Regions from separate parts of the Homo sapiens genome. Here region 2 is linked to region 1. The links are contacts of gene promoters, found by promoter capture Hi-C in blood cells and fetal thymus (Javierre and others, 2016). All regions are on one chromosome and are shown on one strand. Each heading gives the region's core, a stretch centred on a gene start or on the middle of the fragment in contact. The rest is flanking DNA. Distances are from core to core; before and after follow the strand shown.

Region 1 (5,604 bases), core at 1,691-4,190:
AGTTATCCCTTTAATTAATGGCTTTAATAATACATTTGTTTCATATGCAGTTGAAAGAACTGACCTTTTATGGTTAGAAAAAAAAATGTTTGAAGTCCCTGGACCAGCCATACCAGAAATCTGAGCACACTAATAACAACATTATGCATGTACATGGTGAGCCTAATTTTGCTGTTGAAAGTAAAAATACAGGCCGGGCATGGTGGCTCACGCCTATAATCCCAGCACTTTGGGAGGCCGAGGCAGGCGGATCACAAGGTCTGGAGATCGAGACCATCCTAGCTAACATGGTGAAACCCCATCTCTACTAAAACTACAAAAAAGTAGCCAGGTGTGGTGGCATGCGCTTGTAGCCCCAGCTACTCGGGAGGCTGAGGCAGGAGAATTGCATGAACCCAGGAGGCAGAAGTTGCAGTGAGCCAAGATTGCGCCACTGCACTCCAGCCTGGGCAACAGAGTGAGACTCCGTCTCAAAAAAAAAAAAAAAAGAAAAAGAAAAAGAAAGTAAAAATACGTAGATTATAGGTTTTGAAATCAATTTAGTAGGTTATGAGCAGTACTGCTTTTAAAAATAGAACAGAATGGGCCGGGCACGGTGGCACACGCCTGTAATCCCAGCACTTTGGGAGGCTGAGGTGGGCCGATCACGAGGTCAAGAGATGGAGACCATCCTGGCCAACATGGTGAAATCCTGTCTCTACTAAAAATACAAAAATTAGCTGGGGTGGTGGTGCGCGCCTGTAGTCCCAGCTACTTGGGAGGCTGAGGCAGGAGAATCGCTTGAACCTGGGAGGCGGAGGTTGTGGTGCCCTGAGATCATGCCACTGCACTCCAGCCTGGTGACAGAGCAACACTCTGTCTCAACAACAACAACAACAAAACAGAATGATGTCTGAATGCCTGCCTGGCAAGTGAGAGGATAAACATTGTTTTATATAACTTTTTGTTTCTATTTTATATCGATATACCTATAGACATAGTATGTATGTGCTGAAGTATGTACCAGGTTGCAGGTTGTAGTGTAAAATATATTTCTTACTGTGGATTGTAGTTTAAAAAAATGAAAAACTCGGCCAGGCACGGTGGCTCATGCCTGTAGTCCCAGCCCTTTGGGAGGCCGAGGCGGGTGGATCACGAGGTCAGGAGATCGAAACATGGTGAAACCCTGTCTCTACTAAAAATACAAAAAAAAAAAAAAACTGGGCGTGGTGGCATGCGCCTGCAGTCGCAGCTACTGGGGAGGCTGAGGCAGTAGAATCGCTTGAATCTGGGAGGTGGGGGTTGCAGTGAGCCGAGATCACGCCACTGCCACTGCACTCTAGCCTGGGTGAGCAGAGTGAGACTCCGTCTCAAAAAAAAAATAATAAAAATAAAATAAAAATGAAAAACTCTGATTTCAGTGGCTTGCCTTTGAAGTTATTCGAACACTTCAGAATCCTCAGGTATTACCTGATAAATGACTTGTTCAGTGTTCTACAAGCTCACTTTCCTGATATTGCTGATTACTATGCATGGAGGATTTGGAAACTCCCAAGATTATTTTATTTTTTACAAACTTATTTTGTATTTATTTATTTATTTTTTTGAGACAGTCTGGCTCTTTTCACCAGGCTAGAGTGCAGTGGCATGATCTCGGCTCGCTGCAACCCCTGCCTCCTGGGTTCAAGCGATTCTCCTGCATCAAGCCTCCCGAGTAGCTGGGAGTAGCTGGGACTACAGGAGCACGCCACCACACCCGGCTATTTATGTATTTAATTAATTAATTTATTTATTTTTTGAGACGGAGTCTCGCTCTGTTGCCCAGGCTGGAGTGCAGTGGTGCGATCTCGGCTCACTACAAGATCCGCCTTCCAGGTTCACGCGATTCTTGTGCGTCAGCCTCCGGAGTAGCTGGGACTACAGGCGCCTGTCTCCACGCCCGGCTAATTTTTTTTGTGTGTGTGTATTTTTAGTAGAGACGGGGTTTCACCGTGTTAGCCAGGATGGCCTCGATCTCCAGACCTCGTGATTCGCCCGCCTCGGCCTCCCAAAGTGCTGGGATTACAGGCGTGAGCCACCGCGCCCGACCTGTCCCTTGACTTTTTTACTGTCCTGAGATGCCAGGCTTATGTGGGCGGTGTGTTCCCAGCAGAAGATGATCCCGTGGAAGTCCCGGGGGATGAAGGTTAGGTTAGTCCCAGTGCCAGCCTTTGGTAGAAACTCAGGACCTGATAGGTAGAAAGGCGACGAAGAGAGCCTGCTCTTCTTCAAGTTCTACTTTTGCCATCCTAATTCCCCTCGCTCTAAGGATAAAACCAAGCTTGATGAAGCCGCCTTAAAACTGCCCCTTCAAGTGGGAGCCCTCATCTCATTTTTATCCAGGAAAGAGCCCAGAGCATCTGCCGCGGCCTGTAGGCTCTTCTCTGCCAGGCTGGCTTCCGAAATTTCACGGTGGCGGGTACCTTAAGGCCACTCGGCCGGGCAACTGGCAGGAAGATGAAGGTGGGCTTTAAGGAGGAGCACAGCTATGCCCATCTCAGACTCTGGAGACCCGAACGAACTCTAATCTGAATGTGTGACCTTGGGCAAATCACTTACCCTCCCCAGGCCTCGGTTCCCTTATCTGCAAAGTAAAGGTAGCCCTAAAGTCCCCGCCAGGTGTGAATGGGACTTTAAGTCCATCAGGCAGGATGTTGATGGCACTGCGCCAGGGCCCCGGGTCGGCGTGGGGCGGGGGCGCGCCAACGCGGGGCCGGCACCGAGGACTGGGTGGCCCGGGAGAAAAGCGGCGACTGCGCGGCTGCGCGGGGGACGGTGCACACAGTGCTGCGCCCCCCGCCTCTTGGCTCGCTGCCGCGGCCCGGGGGCCACGAGGTTACGTAAGGAGCCGGGCGGGGGTAGCGGCTGGGGAGGGCGGGGCGGGCACCGCCCCAGCGCGGCCGCCCAGCCCCCGCCCGCCCGCGCCTGGCGGCGGTGGCGGCAGTGGCAGCAGTGGCAGCCGCGCAGCCCCGCGGAATGGAGCGGCGCCGGGGCTGAGCCGGGCGCGCACGGGCCGCCGCATGTGCCGCGCGGGGAGCGGCTGCCGAGCGGGCGGAGAGCGAGCGCGAGAGGCCCCGTCGGAGCGGCCGCCGGAGCAGCGCCGGAGATGGGGTGAGTGAGCCCGCGCCGCGCGCTCTCCGCGCGCCCCTCCGGAGGGACTGCGGGGCCGCGGCTGGCGTAACCGGGCTCGGAGCCTCCCGGCGGGCCGGCCCCCGCCTCCCCAAGCCGGAGCGAGCGCACACTCTGCGCCCGGGAGTCTGGGGCCACCTGACCCGCGCCCTCCGCCGGGGCACGCGGACACCCAGCAGGGGCACCCTGGCCTGGGCGCGGAGCCCGTGGCCCTTCCCCTCCCATACAGCCCGGGCACGGGGGCACCTGACGGGGACCGGTGCCCTGGCCGGCCTCCTGCCTCGGCCATTCCGCGGTCTCTTCGCCCCTGGGCGCAGTCAACTCCAGGGCCTGTGTGAGTCTAAGCAGTTTGTCGTTCTCCACGTTTGGATTTATTACAAGCAAAATGGAAATCGAAGTTTTCCTGGAAATAATCAAATAATAATAAACCTCCAGCGTAGGAATAGTGGACTTTGGATCTGCTTTGAGATGCTGAAGATGATGGAAGTCTATAAGGAACCTAGGTGAGGCTTCAGTCTTTGAAACAACTGAGTAGATGCTCAGGAGGGAAGTTGAAATACTCTGTCGAAGTGACTAATGCTTCTGAGTATATAAAGTAATTTAAGCTTTCCCCTCGGCGTCTCTCTGAGCAGTAGGCTCTGTGAGTCTGGGAGCCACTGTGCTAATAGCACAATAACTCCTTACATCTGCTCACTCTATTTGGGCACACGTTGACGGTTTGCCATACGTATTCAGGGGACACTTATGTCCACTTTACAGATGAGGAAACTGAGGCACAAAGTGGTTCGGTGACTTCCCCCAGGCTGTGTAGTTGATGAGCATTTGTGTAGCAGGGGTGGCCTTGCCACTGCCTGACGTGGGCATGGAGGCGGGTAAGTGAACCAGAATTCCTAAATCTCTCTGTTCCCTGCTGCTGAACCCAGCATTCTTCCAACAGCCCTTCGCAGGACTCAAATGCTTCTGCTCCAAGGGTCTAGAGATCTTGCTTTCCTGTTTGGGATGGGTGGGGCCTGGGAAGGCAAGAGTGCAGTGGAAGGAGCAAGATTGTCCTGGTGCCCTGGCTCAGCCCCCCTGGGTCAGTGGCTTTCTTGCACCGTACTCCAGGTTAAGTTTCTGGAGTCATTTTGCCTGGTGAGTCTTAGCCATGGGAGCTGCAGAGTGTGTGAGGGGATCAGAGGCAGGCCAAGAGGAATTTTGAGGAATGGAAGTGTGAGGGCTGTGGGCCAACATGAACTGGACATGACAGAGGTGGGTGACAGAGAGGAGGAGGCGAGATGAGCAGCGAGGGCTGAAGAAGTGTGCTTACATTTAGGAGATTTCACATGAACAGCAACTGTGGGTGATTTTACCCAGAGGCACCCAAGTTGGCAGGCCGTATTTCTGTAACATTTCCAGTGAGTCCTCAGTGGACTGTGAAAAGGCTGATCTTTGAGCAGTGAGAGCCTTTGAGGTTCTCAGATTTCATACTTTAAAAAAATGTACAGGGAAAAAGGAGTTGGCAAATGTAAGGTCTCAGAATGGAAGATAAAAGGGATCCGGTAATTTTAACTCTCTTTCTGGCCCTCCCTCCCCCTGGCCAACACAAAACCAATCCACCGTACTTGTGTGATCAAAAACAAGTACTGAAACTCTGTGGTTGAGATCAAATAGTTCTGTGGAAATGAAAATGTTTACTCACTCATAAAACCTTAAAGAAAATGTCAAAAAATAATTTTTGTTTGTGGAGAAGCAGGGAGGAGACGCTTGGGGATTTTGTTTAAACACAGAATATGTCTTTCATGTAATTTTAACATCATTCGATAAATGTATATATTACTCACTTCTCGTAGATAAAGGCTGGTTTGTAACTCCTACCTACCTCTGCCATTTTTAATAGATCCATGTCTTCTATTATTTATGTGAAAATACAAGCCATGGTCGTAAATTGAGATGCAGCTAAGGGCTGGGGAAGCAATTCAGACAGGAGGGTGGAGGGAGCCGTTTTAACTGAAAATAGAACCAATGTCATCCTTTCTGAGAGTTGTGTAGGATGGAGGGGGAAGAACTTTTTGAAAGGGCAGCTAGTAGAAAACCTTGCTGCGATCCTACAGCTTCGTCATGGCTCTGCTGTGTAGACAGGACTAGGATTTAAGGGAAAAAAAAACAAACTATCTGAGTTTACCTCCCCCCAACTTGAGATGCTTCTCCTCCCTCAAATGTTCACTACCATTTTCCACTTCTCTTCTGCGAAGTGTTCTGTGTTAAGTGTGGCCTCTCCAGTGAGTTTGTGTTCTTACTCCCTAAGGCAACTATTTCATACCTATTCCCCTTTCCAGACCTCTCCCCTTCCTAGGCACACCCCGTGGCTTCCCTTTCAATTGACAAGATAGGCACCTTTGACCAAGGGAATGTCTTCATTTTGCCACCACCTAGTCTAGTATGCAGCTGCTGCTACCTTCTCCTACCTGCCTGCTGTGC
Region 2 (5,604 bases), core at 1,702-4,201, 49 kb before region 1:
TTACATCTATATTAAAGTTTCAAAAGCTAATAATATATTTTTACATCTTCAGGTCAAGTTATAGTAATTTATTAAAGAAAATAAAATTAATTTCCTTTGCTGATCAGGAGAGCTGATCTGCAGTTGTGCGCTTTGTCCAGCAAGTACATGAGAAAGATGTATTGATGGACCAAATCATTAAAAACAAAATCCACAAGGAAGAACAATAATAAAAATTGCTGATGGTAGCTGGGCTTGGTGGCTCACGCCTGTAATCCCAGCGCTTTGGAAGGTTGAGGCAGGAGGAACACTTGAGCCCAGGAGTTTGAGACCAGCCTGGGCAACGAAGTGAGACCCTGTATCTGTCTCTGTCTCTTTCTTTATAGATAGATAGATATACATAGATAGATTTTATACATAGATATATATATTTATATGTAAGATTATATATAAGACCTCATATATAAGAAGTCCAGGCCGGGTGTGGTGGCTCATGCCTGTAATCCCAGCACTTTGGGAGGTCGAGGCGGGTGGATCACCTGAGGTTAGGAGTTTGAGACCAGCCCGGCCAACATAGTAAAACCCCATCTCTACTAAAAATATAAAAACTAGCCAGGCATGGTGGTGGGTGCCTGTAATCTCAGCTACTCGGGAGGCTGAGGCAGGAGAATTGCTTGAACCCAGGAGACGGAAGTTGCAGTGAGCCCACACGGTGCCACTGCACTCCAGCCTCGGCGACAAGAGTGAGACTCCGTCTCAAAAAGAAAGAAAAAATCCCAGACAGTGAAAGAGAAGCTACTCGTCTAGTACAACTCTTAACTTGTACCAAATAGGTATCAAGGGCAAGAAAAGGTGGCTTATGTGAGATCACAGTGCACATTAATGGCAGAGCTTGGTTTAAGCCCAGCTGCTTTGTCTTCTAAACTGTGCCATATACTGCCTGCAAATGTGCTTCTGTTTTACATGGTCTTAAGAGCTTTTCCCACTCTTTCTCAAGACCATTGCCATGTGTGCTGTAAAGCCGTTTTACTTGTGGATTTTACATGGATCACTGTTAGAATGTCATAAAATGATATCATAAAAGATCAACTTTCCTGGCCGGGCATGGTAGCTCACACCTGTAATCCCAGCACTTTGGGAGGCCAAGGCAGGTGGATCACCTGAGGTCGGGAATTCGAGACCAGCCTGACCAACATGGAGAAACCCCATCTCTACTAAAAATACAAAAAATTAGCTGGGCGTGGTGGCACATGCCTGTAATTGCAGCTACTCGGGAGGCTGAGGTAGGAGAATCGCTTGAACCCGGGAGTTGGAGGTTGCGGTGAGCTGAGATCGTGCCATTGCACTCTAGCCTGGGCAAAAGGAGCGAAACTCCATCTCAAAAAAAAAAAAAAAAAAAAAGGATCAACTTTTGGTCAGGCGTGTTGGCTTACGCCTGTAATTCCAGCGCTTTGGGAGGCCGAGGCAGGCAGATCACGAGGTCAGGAGTTCAAGATCACCCTGGCCAACATGGTGAAACCCCGTCTCTACTAAAAATACAAAAGTTACCTGGGCATAGTGGCAGATGCTTGTAATCCCAGCTACTCGGGAGGCTGAGGCAGGAGAATTGCTTGTGAACCGGGACCCTGGAGGCAGAGGTTGCAGTGAGCCAAGATCGCACAACTGCGAACTGCGCTCCAGCGTGGGCTGCAGAGGCAGACTCCGTCTCAAGAAAAAAAAAAATCAGCTTTCTTTCCTTCCCCTGAATCTTCTGCAGTGCCAGTTTCATCCTCAGGCCCACTTGTTTCATGTAGACAAAAGGCCAACCAGGTTTCATATTCACGTATCAACCCCTGCAGTAGGAGAAAAGGCCACTCCTAGGAGCTCTGGTATTTTCCAGAAGCTTTCAGTCAGCCTTCCCTTGTATCAGCCCAAATCAAGTCACATGAAATTTCTAAGCCAGCCCCTGTGATCAGGGAATGCCATTCTATAACACAAGTTCCCTAAAGCAGTAACTATAGAAGAAAGAATTACCCTAATTGTTTCAGGCCAATTAAGGCCCATCCTAGAGGTGGAAATGGGGTCAGCATACTCAGAAGCAAAGAAGTAGAGAGAGTTGGATACCTGAATAAAATTGGGAAAAGTTACAAAGAGAGGAATGGATGCTGGAGAGGAACCACCAGTTTCTACTACGATAACCTATTTACTTCATTTTAAACGGTGATATTTTAAACGTGGGAACATTTTGCCTAGTGAGTTTTTTTCTTTGAGAAACGTAGCAGTATCTTGTAACAAAGAAGATATGGGGACACTCTGTCATCAAAAACTACTTTGGGGCCGGGCATGGTGGCTCACACCTGTAATCCCAGCACTTTGGGAGGCCAAGGTGGGTGGATCACCTGAGGTCAGGAGTTCAAGACCAGCCTGGCCACCATGGTGAAACCCCACCTCTACTAAAAATTACAAAAATTAGCTGGGCGTGGTGGTACATGACTGTAATCTCAGCTACTTGGGAGGCTGAAGCAGGAGAATTGCTTGAACCCGGGAATCAGAAGCTGCAGTGAGCCGGGATCACACCACTGCACTCCAGCCTGGGTGACAGAGCAAGGCTCTGTCTCAATAACAACAACAAAAAAACAGAAACAAACAAAACAAAACAAACTACTGTTGGAGGTAGGAACTGGCCCAGGGGCTGTATTCCCAGAACACGATTCCCTTTTCCCCACTGCAAACAAGATAGTCTACAGCAGCCTCACAACTTAATTGTCTCACACAGGACTATTCCTACTGTTAAGAGATCACAGCTAAGGCTTGGGCACCTTGACCTGCTGTAGAAGCTCAGTTAATGTACTTTTCATCATCTGGGCCCTGGTATTCCCCTGTAAATACTGAAGTAGACCCAGTGACCTAGTGCCCAAGACACAAAATATTCAGCCTCCGTAACATTTGTCTAATGACATGGTTCTAGCTTTGCTCACTCCCATTAATTTCAAGTGAGTACTGGCTAGGCAGTCTATAGTGACTTGATTACACTGTCTTTCTTGTCCTGTGCTGTCCTGAGAATCCTGGATTTGAAGCAGCCTATGAATAAGGTTTGAAAAATATTTATCCAACTATGCCGACATATGATGTTCTAGCACTGCATCTGTCATCTATCACCCGCACCTTAATAAATGATAATTACTTGTGCAAACATGATGTATTAATCACTTATTAACTTGGTTGCTTACTTGACAGACACTGCTAGGTGGTTTGCCTATGCTGTACTTCGACAGATCCTGGGAAAGAACAGCCTGGCTCATTATGCCCTGGAGGCAGGAGCAGAGATTTCAGACTTCTGATTTCTGTGAGCCATTCCACACTTTCCTCTCGGTTAGGGGAGGGACAGCAATAACCAGAGGATGAAGGTGGAACCTTTGCAGTGCACACCTAGGCCAGTGCAGTGGCTTATGCCTGTAATCCCAGCACTTTGGGAGGCTGAGGCGGGTGGATCACTTGAAGTCAGGAGTTTAAGACCAGCCTGACCAATATGGCGAAACCCTGTTTCTACTACAAATACAAATATTCGCTGGGCATGGCAATGCATGCCTGTAGTCCCAGCTACTTGGGAGGCTGAGGCCTGAGAATTGCTTGAACCCAGGAGGCAGAGGTTGCAGTGAGCCAAGATCATGCCACTGCATTCCAGCCTGGGCGACAGAGATTCCATCTTGAAAAATAAAGTTCCAAATACCTAAATGCTCAAACTTTAGGAGGCAGCTCTCTGGGCTGTGGGCTGTCAGCATCCCCCTCCTAGATTCCAGGGATTTGGTTACATAGTTCTTTAGCTGTAATGCAGAGTATAAATTTTAGAACCCACATGGCCCCAAATTCAAATTGTTTTAATGCATGTAACTAGTGACTAAAAACTTAGAATTTCAATTTACATCCAAGAGGTGGCACCATAACACAACAGCAAAAAGCCACACAAACTGAAACTCGTTTCCTTTTGTAGTGAACAGCACTATTAGGTAGTCTGCAGTGCCTGACTACGGGCTCACATGCTGTGATCCTTCTCGTTTTCTCAGAGCCATTCCTTAAGCTTAGTCCCCTTGTATCTTAAATTTAGCTCAGGTCGGAGTGTTGTTAACTTGGGGCCAGCTGGGTTCGTGAGAGTCTCAGCCCATTGCCATGGTGGAGTCAGCATGGTCTTGAGTTCCTTCCTTAACTCTGCAGGTTTCAGAAATCCACGTAGCCAGTGTTTCTGAAAATGGATCTAGGCTGGGCAATTGGCAAGGAGCTAATTTCTTATCAAGATGCCAGCTTATTAACTTGAGTGAAGAACACAACTGCCAAATAGACTGTATAGTGGGATCTGCTAGTGAGAACATTCTGTCCCTTTGGGAAATCTCTTTAAGAGAATCATCATTTGAAGGCTGCTTGGAGAGCCTGGAATCAGAGCCAGGGAAATTAGGGGCCAGGGTAAGGGAGCTATGACCATCTATAGCTCCCATTTCTGCTGCAGGGATGGACCTATGGTATCAGCCAGCCACAGAAGGTCTTTTGGGACAACACTGGAGATAATGATCCTTCATAGTACAGGAACTCCCTTTTTCTAGGTTGCAGGAAGACCACCTATTTCTACCCACATAGGCATTCCTCAGACAATCCTCATAATTTAGTTATTAAGGGTTTTTGCATTTTATAATCCTGTCTGCCTCAGGGTCCATCGGTCCCCTAGATAGAGTTTGGGGAGGGAAGAATCCCCAAACTTTGCAGCCACAAGTTACGTACTCCCTGGTCATTTCTACAGAAAACTAATCTGTGATGTGTTTTTACTATCGCAGTGACGTTCAAACTGTTTCAAAGCCTTAGGTTTCCCCAGAGATGCCTAGGGGGATTGGGGCACTGTGGACAATAAGGGAGTGAGTCAAGTCAACAGAAATGCTAGCTAGCCTTTAGTTCTCTTCTACAGCCGTACTGGGTGGCATGTACACGTGATAGCTGCTCACACCACATGTGGCTATTGAGCACTTGAAATGTGGCTAACATAATTTAAAAGTAAAAGGTAAGGCTGGCCATGTTGGCTCACGCTTGTAATCCCAGCACTTTGGGAAGCTGAGGTAGGAGGATAGTTTGTGGCCAGGAGTTTGAGACCAGCTTGGGCGACGTGGTAAGACCCCATTTCTCCAAAAAAAATTAAAAAAATTAACTAGGCATGGTGGTGTGTGCCTGTAGTCTCAGCTACTTGCGAGGCTGAGGCAGGAGGATCACTTGAGCTCAGGAGTTCGACGTAGTGAGCCATGATTGCGCCACTGCACTCCAGCTTGGGTGAGAGGGCAAGACGCTGTCTCAAATAAATAAAAATGAGCCCCCTCCCCCTCCCCCTCCCCCTCTCCCTCACCCTCTCCCTCTCCCCACGGTCTCCCTCTGATGCCAAGCCAAAGCTGGACTGTACTGCTGCCATCTCGGCTCACTGCAACCTCCCTGCCTGATTCTCCTGCCTCAGCCTGCCCAGTGCCTGTGATTGCAGGCGCGCGCCGCCACGCCTGACTGGTTTTGGTGGAGACGGGGTTTCGCTGTGTTGGCCGGGCCGGTCTCCAGCCCCTAACCACGAGTGATCCGCCAACCTCGGCCTCCCGAGGTGCCGGGATTGCAGACGGAGTCTCG

The links. Contacts are between HindIII fragments. The CHiCAGO score rates a contact against its expected background, and 5 or more counts as called.
Region 2: a contact is called between a fragment that was not itself captured here and the fragment with the promoter of HOMER2 in region 1, in 1 of 17 cell types (M2 macrophages). The highest score is 5.2, in M2 macrophages.

Annotation. Positions count from the first base shown.
Region 1 is chr15:82,950,056-82,955,659 of GRCh38, reverse strand. It overlaps HOMER2 (homer scaffold protein 2), which reads left to right and starts at 2,940. Exons shown (of 9, transcript NM_004839.4): 1 at 2,940-3,129. The coding sequence starts at 3,125. RefSeq lists an enhancer at 3,190-3,690. The HindIII fragment of the contact is 1,453 bases long and covers 2,302-3,754 here.
Region 2 is chr15:82,998,898-83,004,501 of GRCh38, reverse strand. It overlaps C15orf40 (chromosome 15 open reading frame 40), which reads left to right. Exons shown (of 4, transcript NM_144597.3): 4 at 1-5,604. Among named protein-coding and RNA genes, the nearest start is that of C15orf40, 9.9 kb to the left of the region's middle. RefSeq lists a silencer at 3,791-4,085. The HindIII fragment of the contact is 2,175 bases long and covers 1,864-4,038 here.